3 separate regions of the Homo sapiens genome follow, and all the other regions are linked to region 1. The links are contacts of gene promoters, found by promoter capture Hi-C in blood cells and fetal thymus (Javierre and others, 2016). All regions are on one chromosome and are shown on one strand. Each heading gives the region's core, a stretch centred on a gene start or on the middle of the fragment in contact. The rest is flanking DNA. Distances are from core to core; before and after follow the strand shown. Region 1 holds the start of PRDM10 (PR/SET domain 10). Region 2 holds the start of STT3A-AS1 (STT3A antisense RNA 1). Region 3 holds the start of PUS3 (pseudouridine synthase 3).

Region 1 (3,231 bases), core at 445-2,944:
ATATTGAATAAACACTGTTTAAACGCTGCTTTGCCCCCAACCAATCCTAATTTTAAAAAAAAATCTTGTTTTCTCTATTCTAGAACAACAAATAAGTACTGCTCATCAAAGTGGAAGCTATTGTGATGCTGGAATGGTAGGAAGATACAAAAAAAATACAATGTAATAATACACCTTCTTGCCTTACAGCGATGGAGGAGTGATAGAAACAAAGAGAACAGGTCAGAAAAAGAGGCCACAAAACAGTCATGAGTGATTCTGCTGTTTTTAATAAAGGTTAAGTACTGCTAAGTTTAGAGAATTTGGGGTGACGAGACAGGCAAGGTTTCAACAGGCAAAGCAGCAGAATTAGGGCACAGGGCAGAGCTGGGTGGGTCTCATCACACATCTAATCCTCGATGACAGCACAAAGCCACCTCTCCTTGTGCTTAAGTGTACACGCACATTGATTGAAAATGCACTAAAATCCAACTCATCCACCAAGCAAGGCTAAAGGCGCGCACACAAATTCAACAGCGCTGCGTTCGCGTGGCTGGAGGGCAGACGGGGAATATTCCATTTTACTTAGTAGAGTATCAACACCTAGCTGCAGGGTTAAACCTGCTTAACAAAAGCTGGCGAGGGGCTGGAGAGGTGCACACCATCAGCCCTCTCCCGAGCGCCGACCGGCCTCGCCCTGCCTCTGCGCTGCACCCTGGGTGCAGGCGGACTGGGGCAGGGCCGCGACCCCGGCCTCGGCCTCCGCCTCCGCCCGGCCAGCCCCGACGCGGTGCCACGGGACAGACCCGCAGGGGCCACCCCACACCCCTGCGGGCCGGCCCCCCGCCCCGGTCCCGGACGCTAGCTTGGGAAGGCAGGCCGGGGGCCCAGCCATCGATGGCAAGTGGGCGGCGCGGCCTCCGCAGACAAAGCTGGGCGCCCCATCGAACAGGACCCTCCGCCCCACGCGCCCGCAACCGGCCAGCCCCGGAGCCCTGCCCGCACTGCCACCCCCAGCCCGGCGCCCGGCCCCCAGCCCCCGGTGCTCGGCTCCCGGCCGGCGGAGACCTGCCCGCCGCGCCCGGAGCGCCCGCGCAACCGCCGCCGCCGGAGCGCGCAGGCCGCCCAACCGCCGTCCCGGCCCAACCAACGCGGGCAGGGGAGGAGAGGTGCGCGCGGCCGGCGGAGCGTGCGAGCCACTCGGGGGTCGCAGGGGGAGGCTGCGCGCGGCGAAGGCAGGGGCGACGAGACGCCGAGGCCGGCGCTGAACGCGGCGCCAGGAGGGCCTGCTGGAGGGGGCCTTGCCCTCTTCCCCTTGGAAGGTGCAGATGGTTTGACCCCCCACCCCGAGTGAGGTGCCTCGTCCCAGCCCCGGCTGGACTGTACCATCGGGCGGTGCCGCCGGGATTTCTCCCCCCCACCACCACCATCAATTCCCCCCCCACCCGGGTCCGCGGTCGGTTGGCCCCGGCCGGGCTCTGAGACGCGGAAAGAGCTGGGCGCCATTTTGGGTGGGACTAAGCAAAGACGAAACACCCTCCCAGTCTATGGGGTAGTCTGGACCCTGGCTTATCTGGTTCCCTTAATCCTTTAGGTACTTACACGACGTTGGGTGAGGGGAGCTGGAAGATCAGCGGGTCCCCGATCCTCTCTCCCTAGGGGTGATAGAAATCAACCCCCCCCGCCACCTCCAGGTGGTTCTTCCCGCCGCAGAGTGGGAGCAGCATAAAAGGCGGGGTCTTATTAGCATAATCTGCCTGGCAACCTGATCTCGACGTTATATGATTGGTTAAACTCTGTAAGCCCCATGCCGTGCCTAGAGACGAGAAACGCTGGGGCGAACTGACAGGCCCAGATTTAGGAGTCATGACGAAGATCCTGAGACGCTTATTCAGTCTGCAGAGAAGCCAAAAGGAGATTCACATAATGGCCCAATGACTGAAGGCCTCTTTATTTCGTGCTCTGCTGTTCGTGTAAAACCCAATCGCAGAGCGGGTCTCAGGCGGCGCTCGCCTGCGTTTCTACTCTCAGCCAATCAGAAAACCCGACTCTTCGCATTGGGGTCAAGCCCCCGCTGCGGCCCGCGTGCTAACGGGGAGGAAGCTTCCAGCTGTGCCTGGGTGTCTCGGGCGCCGAGGGCAGCCTGCGCCCGTGCTAAGCCCGCCTCCCGCGCGCCCGAGGGCCCGGTGTCCCGGAAGACGCGCGGGGGTGAGGCGGCCCTCGCGTCCGCCCGCCCCGCCACAGATTGCCTCCGAAGTGGCCTGGCCGTGGAGCGCCGGCGAAAACCGAACTCCCGCCCGGCTCCCGGAGTCGGGAGCCTGCCGGGGTCTCGCCCTCAGGACCCCCAGGGAGCGGCCGGGCGCCGCCTATCACCCTGACCCACCGCACCTTGAGAGCGCTTTCACTGCGCCTCTTTTTTCTCCTCTACCAATCTGGAAAGGAAGTGAGTGTCATTTCAGACATTGAGAAACATTATTCAACACTGGTTACCCAGTGACTCAGCTCACTCCTTAACCGCAGGCTTCCACATCCTGCTGTCCCTTAAAATTGCCTTCACAAAGGGCAGCCAAGAGCCCAGCTTTGGAGAGATACCCAGCTCCAACTACCCACTGGCAGGCAATACGCAGGGCAGCTAGATGGCAGAGAGACCTTGGACCTTCGGACCTTCGGGGAGCGGTTTTCCCTTCGGTGATATCTACCTTGCTATGTTCGTGATATCTACCTTGCTACGTTATTTTGAAGATTAAGTGAGCTCTTACTTTACCGAGTAAAGTGCTTTGCTTAGCACACTGTCTGGAACTTAAATGAGAAGTACTGACAATATAACTTACAAAAATCCTAAACTATTGCCTGAGAAAAAGAGGGAGACAGGACAGCTAAGCAAAAGACGAGAATAGAAAACACCCACAGCGTGAAAAACTGTAAAATTAACTCAATAGTATTCTCTTTACTGTTTTTTGTTTTGTTTTGTTGTTTTGTTTTTTGATACGGAGTCTCGCTCTGTTGCCCAGGCTGGAGTGCAGTGGTGAGATCTGGGCTCATTGCAACCTCTGCCTCCCGGGTTCAAGCGATTCTCCTGCCTCAGCCTCTCTAGTAGCTGAGATTACAGGCATGCACCACCACGCCCGGCTAATTTTTGTATTTTCAGTAGAGATGGGGTTTCCCCATGTTGGCCAGGCTGGTCTCAAACTCTAACGTCAAGTGATTCTCCCGCCTTGGCCTTCCAAATTGCTGGGATTACAGATGTGAGCC
Region 2 (3,231 bases), core at 534-3,033, 4.4 Mb before region 1:
CTTTGAAAAAAATTAATAAAAACTCTAACATCTTAATATTCTTTTTCTTTTTTTGAGACGGAGTTTCGCTCTTGCTGCCCAGACTGAAGTGCAATGGCGCGATCTTGGCTCACTGCAACCTCCAACTCCTGGGTTTAAGCGATTCTCCTGCCTCAGCCTCCCAAGTAGCTGGGATTACAGGATCCTGACACCAAGCCCAGCTAATTTTTGTATTTTTAGTAGAGATGGGGTTTCACCATGTTGGTGAGGCTGTTCTCAAACTCCTGACCTCAGGTGATTCACCCGCCTCGGCCTCCCAAAGTGCTGGGATTACAGGCGTGAGCCACCGCGACCGGCCTTAATATTCTTAGGTTAATACTTAAAAAAAAACAAAAGAAACTTGAACACAATCTTTCTAATTTTAATGCCCCCCTCCCCGCTTTTTTATTTTTAAAGAGAAAAAACTTCTTTTTGAGACGGAGTCCAGCTCTGTCGCCAGGCTGGAGTGCAGTGGCACGATCTCGGCTCACTGCAACCTCCGACTCCCTGGTTCAAGTGATTCTGTGTCAGCCTCCCGAGTAGCTGGGATTACAGGCACGCGCCACCACGCCCAGCTAATTTTTCTATTTTTAGTAGAGACGGGTTTCACCATGTTGGCCAGGATGGTCTCTACCTCCTGACCTCGTGATCCGCCCGCCTTGGCCTCCCAAAGTGCTGGGATTACAGGGGTGAGCCACCGCGCCCGACCAAAACTCGTATTTTGAAGAAGCATTTACTCCAAGTTCTGTAATTCCTTCAGGCTCAGCTTCAGTTTCCTTTTGTTAAAGTAAAATTACATCGAACACTTACTACTAAAAACAAAACCAAAAAAAAGCAGATCTATTGAATCATAACGTCCTGGGGCGAGCCTGGTCATGTGGATTTTGAAAAAAATGCATGTGATTCTGAAGCAGTGATTTAAATAATGACCTTTCAATAAGTGGTGGGTTCCGTTCATGGGAGAATAGGAAACTGCGTGAGTGGTAGAGGCAACAAGTTCGAAGAGCTGCGAGACGTTCCCACTCTCTCTGGTGTAGCCTTGGCTCACCGAGGCGCGCAGGGAGTGGAAGTGCCTGAGGATAAAGGTGTACACGTGCGAGTCTGAGATGATGGAATTGCTGCTCAAACTTCGTCCCCTTCTCTGCCCTCAGCAAACTTATTGGGGGTCGGGGAGCGCGTGGGGTGCGAGAGAAGAGAGGCAAGTTAGGATAGGGAGAGCGGCTCTCTGGCCGGTATTTTAACAAAGGGCTGAACTGACTAAGCATGGCCGGGCTGCCTCCCGGTCTCCCGAGGAAGCCCGCTTGCTGCTGGGGAGGGCTGTGCCTCCGCGGCGGTGGCTGTCTCAGCTGGCAGTAGAAATGCTTCCAGCTTAGCCCCGACAACCCCTTTAGGCCTAGGCACGCTCTTTCACAAAACCAGGGGCTGTGAACTCTGTCAAGGTTCCCAGGTCCATCGCAGTTACCAAGGCACAGTAAAAGCTCGAGTCAACTATCAGGCACATCCTGCAAAAGACGAACTGTCTGGACCAGTCCGCGTTTGAGTTTTAATTGAGAATAAATAGGTAGAAAATGCTTCCCTCCTCTCCTTTCACCTTGTATTAGGTAACAATTTCTACCTTAAAAAAGACGGGAGACGAGCGGCTCCGCATTCCGAGTTACTGGGACTTGGAGCAAGGGCCTATTTCAGCGTAGTTTCCGCTTCTTGTCACATGACGGGAGTCAGTGGGCCGCGCCTTCCCACTGCGACTCCCCGTGGGTCCGCAAACCGACACGTCACTCCTCGGCCCTCAACCAAACTGCTTGGGGCACGTTCTTTCCGCGCTCTTGACTCCTACGCGCCGGCCTATGACAGCTCGGCGGGAGCATACAGACCTGCCTCTAGACTGCTAAGTGATAGCTGTAATGACCAATTAAAAACTTGAATCGCGGCCCGGTTTACGCCTCCGGATTTGACAGACAGTTCCGAGACCCTATCGCTCTCCAGAAGCGTCCTATTGGCCTGGAGCCAGCCAACGGGGGAGCGGTCCGGGAGGCGGACCCGGCTCCTGCCAGGGTTGGGTGCGCCGCTGAACGGATGGCTGAGGGAGCCCCGCGGATCGTTTAGGAAAGCCGGCCAGGTGAGAAGGCCGTAGAACGTAACTTGAAAATCAGCGGCAGGTGCAGTCCATGGCGTTGATGGGGCTGAACGAAGTGCAGGAGGCAAAACTCTAAATGGGGGTGGAGAGCAGAGCTTAGGGCCTTGCAGAGGAGGGGGCGTGGGGCGTGGTGTGGGGGCTTCCTGGATGGAAGGATGCGAAGGTCTAGGGAGGGAGGGTAAGGTGGGTCTTGAGAACAGAGCGTGGGAAAGACTGGGTCCTGGGACTAGTTATGGAGGGGAAGGCGCGTAGGATGCTGGGGTGATGAGTGTCCCGCGCTGAGGGGTATCAGAGGTGGTCAGTTCTTTGAGGGTGGGAAGAAGAGGGAGGTGGGACCCGCTGGAACGACCGGAAGGGAGAAGAGAGTAAAAGATCGTGAGAGGGTGTGGAAACGTGTGTAGGAAAACGGGGCTGGGGAAATTGCAGTCTGGGAAACTAGAGGCAGGGTGGCAGGAGATGCCACAGCTTGCAGGGCACAGTTGAGGAGAGCAGGTTGGTAAGTGTTTTAAGAAAGGTGTCTTTGCTCTTATTTGCTTGGCGGTGTGCGAAAGTGACCAAAGAGCACGAGATGAAATCTCCCTTACGGCCCTGCCCTCAATGACTAGCTCGTTTACTCAAGTTTTCAAGTAGAGATCCTAGCAGTCTCATTTTGGTGTGTGGCTCGTATCAACGCAGTGGTGTTAAGTTTGTTCCTATTTCAGGCATTCCAGAAAACAGCTGCAAACCCTGAGAGATATGGCTGGATTGTTGACCTCCTGGAGTAGTTAGGCCTTTATTTTTAGTTGCAAAGTAAGCTTTCCCTTTGGGACTATACTTAAACACATTTCTAAACTGCTCTTCTGGGACAGTTAATTATGGAGAACATGCTTGACTTCTCAGTGTTGGGGCTAGCATTCTATATGCCTTCCACCTAGTCCAGTGTTGTTGTTGTTTTGTTTTTCTCCTTTATTCCAATAATAGTGGGAAAAAAGATTCATGGAGGAGGATAGACAAACGTTTGTTAAGGGATACACAAGTACAACTAGATAGGAATAAATTCTAGTGTTCTATAGGATAACTATTATTAGGAGTATAATTAA
Region 3 (3,231 bases), core at 453-2,952, 4.1 Mb before region 1:
AGAGGCCAGAAGAATGATAGTACAGTTTGCTTGTTCACAGAGAAAAAGTTCTAACATAAAGGTGAATGACCTTGACCGTTACTATCTGCGAAAATCATTTTCCCTGTAACATTTAAAGCCACATAATTCACACATTCACCCAGTTCTATTTGTTAGGCATTTGTCTGGAAAAGAAGTAATCAATGACTCAGGTACATGTAGGATATACTCACCGCAAAAAAGTAGAAACTGCAAACTGTCCACCAACAGTGGAATAGTAAATGTCTTTAAAGACATTAGAATATTAAATAGTCATTGGGAATCTTGGGAAAGTAATATGGGAAGGTGAAATTAAGTGACATGAATGTATCATAAACTATACAGGATGATCTCAGTACACACAGGGAAAGATCAAAACCTAACGAGTAGTGGGATTAAAGGTAATTTGTATTTATACCTCGACTTTTTATGAGGTCAAAAATTACATGGTGATTTTAACATGCAAAACACTCCAGTGATTATTTGGATCTCAAAGTCCAACATTACCAAAGTCTCCAAAGTTCAACTCCCGTGCTAACTAAAGAACTAGGCCAGGGAGTGAGTCTAGTTGGTCATAAGGCAGATTTGTGGCAAAAACAGGACTTGGTACACTACAGTGCTTTTTCCAGCACACCTTACCCTAATTCAGGGTGAAGTGCAGGAGTTCCCAAGCAGACGTTTAAAGTAACACCCTGGCCAGGGCTGCGAAGTAACCACAGAGAGGGAATTCGTGTGTCCCCTAAGCACCAATTACAAACTAAAACGGCCATCACCAGATGTTCCATACATTGGGCCAGGCGCCGTGGCTCACGCCTGTCATCCCAACATTTTGAGAGGCCAAGACGGGGTGGTGGCGGGGGGGAGGGGGGGTCGCTCGAAGTCAGGAGTTCGAGACCAACCTGGGCAACACAGCGAGACCGTGTGTTAATTAAAAAATTAAAAACTAGGCTGCCAAGATGGCGCACGCCTGCAGTCCCAGCTAGTTGGAGGCTGAGGTGGAAGGATCGCTTGAGCCCAGGAGGTAGAGGCTGCAGTGAGCAGTGATCACGCCACTTCACTCAGCCTGGGCGACAGTCTTAAAAAAAAAAAAAAAAAAGTCCTAATCTCAGGAACCAGTGGGTTAACACATAAATAGCATTCCTCTTGATAAACTTTATATTAATCCAAAGGGAAGAAGAGGGAGTACTGTCCAAAGGATTAGCAGACACGCACTATGATCACTAGAAAGCAATCGTGGTCTGTATGTAAGGCAATCCCCAAAATAATTTGAAAATTGCTGCCACAGCCTCCCACATACTCCTGGGTTCTCAACTTCTACTGTTTTATGAGCACCCAATTCTAAGTGGGGCAGCAGAGCACTTTTGTACTCCACAGTACAAGTACCACTGAAGCTCCCGTCACAACGGAATTAAAGACGACCCTACTGCGGCGAGTTTCCACCGAGAGCTCCAGAAAGTACCAGGCACAAAAGAAAAATACATGGTCTTAAGCGAGGTCTCATTTCCATACGGCAATGCTTTCCTGAAAAGACCAAAGTATGTGAAAGAGGGCAAAAAGAAGACAACAGACAACCGTTCAGCAGTGTGTCCATTTGTCCCTTCCCCTGTGGAACCCAGAAAGTAACCCACTCCAAAAATCCCACACTTACTTTCCGGCAGCCGGCCGCGCCGCGTTTCCGAGAAAGGAAGCTGTCACTGTGCGTCTTCTGCGCAGGCGCCCGAGCCCTCATGGGAGGTGTAGTCCAAGTTTGTGGGAAATGTAGTTCTGAGAACCGAGCTTGGTGCTAGAATCTACCTGAGGTTTTCTAGTCCAGCTACCGTTTCTCCGCCCACAGGGCAGAATCTGGGCCTGTGGCGGGACAGCAATAAAAGGAGGAATTGTAGTGCTACGCTAAAATAATAGAAAAAAGGTAATTTTTCAAATTCTGCTATCCTTATACGAAAACTAAAAGATTGAAGATCTTGGCTCGATTTTATACCTAGTTAAATGAGAAGAAAGTTACCATTGAGAGACAAAAACATTTACTATTAGAATTCAAATTAAAAGCTGAAATGAATATGATAATCTCAAAACAAACGACTAGGTGCCCTGAGAGTGACCGAACAGAGCGGGGAGCGTTGCTTCAGCACCACGGAGAGATCATGACTGCAGTTTCGTGTGGGTTTTTGTATTTTTGCCCCCAATTCCAGAAATGCTGATCAAAATCTCAAAATTACAATTAGAAAACTGGGGGGCGGGGGGGAGGTGGAATTTGGTTCTTTCGTCCAAATTGAGCGGTCATTAAATCATTAGTACCAGGGATCCAGGGATCTATACCGGATTATGCAAACGCATGTAGGACGTAGAGGTTATACCGAAAGGTAATGTTTTTAACAAGAGACCACATTTCAGAATAAAAGCTTTAAAAAGCCTATGTGGAACATCACAGGTATCTAGGGCAGGAACAGCAGTTAGAGCTTGAACAGTTCTGCTTCCTTTCCGCAACTGTGGCATTCGAGGTCATTCGTCATATCAAATTCATCAGATTTTGTCTCCACTTTGCTAACCAATTCGCTAACCTTTCTGACATCTTGTGATGTGGAGGCGGAAATTTCCAGGGAAACCGACACGGGGCGTAAAGCGCGGCGGGGAGTCCGGGGGGCTCCCGCCTGGAGGGCTGTGTGAGCGGCGGGCCGCGGGGCGGCGCGGGGGGCGCTCTCCACTCTGCGGAAGCTGCCCCCTCTGCCCTCCGGTCCGCGCCCTTTCGCCCCGCTCTCTGCCCTCCGCCCCGCTCTCTGCCCTCCGCCCCGCTCTCTGCCCCCCGCCCCGCTCTCTGCCCTCCGCCCCTTCCGCGCGCCACCCAGCCTTCCAGCGCCTGCGCGCCGCACCGCGGTGGTCGCGGGCGCGGACGCGGACGCCTGCCCCCTAAGGAAGCCCATTGGCCAGCGGATGGGGCCAGCACCGCCTCGCGCCGGTGGTGGAAGCACGTGCTGGGGGCGGGAGCAGCAATCGCAGCCATGGCGTCGTTACTGTGGGGAGGCGACGCAGGGGCGGCGGAGAGCGAGCGGCTGAACAGCCACGTAACCGCCACCGAGCCGGGGGGCCACAGCCGCGGGGGTGGAGCTCCCACTCGCAGAGGGAGATCGGCTGGGAGGGGAGGGAGAGCCCGCGAGCGTTCGAAGTGGGGCGTCAGATGCTGGAGGGGAGATGCGGGAAGGGTTTGGAAGAGGGCCA

The links. Contacts are between HindIII fragments. The CHiCAGO score rates a contact against its expected background, and 5 or more counts as called.
Region 2: the fragment with the promoter of STT3A-AS1 here is called in contact with the fragment with the promoter of PRDM10 in region 1 in 1 of 17 cell types (naive CD8 T cells); the score reaches 8.0 in naive CD8 T cells.
Region 3: the fragment with the promoter of PUS3 here is called in contact with the fragment with the promoter of PRDM10 in region 1 in 1 of 17 cell types (naive CD8 T cells); the score reaches 5.5 in naive CD8 T cells.

The regions. Positions count from the first base shown.
Region 1 is chr11:130,001,141-130,004,371 of GRCh38, forward strand. PRDM10 (PR/SET domain 10) reads right to left here and starts at 1,695. Exons shown (of 21, transcript NM_199437.2): 1 at 1,582-1,695. PRDM10-DT (PRDM10 divergent transcript) reads left to right here and starts at 1,484. Exons shown (of 1, transcript NR_024233.1): 1 at 1,484-3,231. RefSeq lists silencers at 729-908, 939-988, 999-1,318, 2,029-2,418 and an enhancer at 1,829-1,918. The HindIII fragment of the contact is 10,759 bases long and covers 1-2,080 here.
Region 2 is chr11:125,590,785-125,594,015 of GRCh38, forward strand. It overlaps STT3A-AS1 (STT3A antisense RNA 1), which reads right to left and starts at 1,784. Exons shown (of 4, transcript NR_132372.1): 1 at 1,634-1,784. It overlaps STT3A (STT3 oligosaccharyltransferase complex catalytic subunit A), which reads left to right and starts at 2,068. Exons shown (of 18, transcript NM_152713.5): 1 at 2,068-2,134. RefSeq lists enhancers at 1,053-1,222, 1,340-1,934. The HindIII fragment of the contact is 3,144 bases long and covers 1-2,944 here.
Region 3 is chr11:125,901,504-125,904,734 of GRCh38, forward strand. PUS3 (pseudouridine synthase 3) reads right to left here and starts at 1,703. Exons shown (of 4, transcript NM_031307.4): 1 at 1,667-1,703. DDX25 (DEAD-box helicase 25) reads left to right here and starts at 3,005. Exons shown (of 12, transcript NM_013264.5): 1 at 3,005-3,077. The coding sequence starts at 3,015. The HindIII fragment of the contact is 3,679 bases long and covers 1-2,415 here.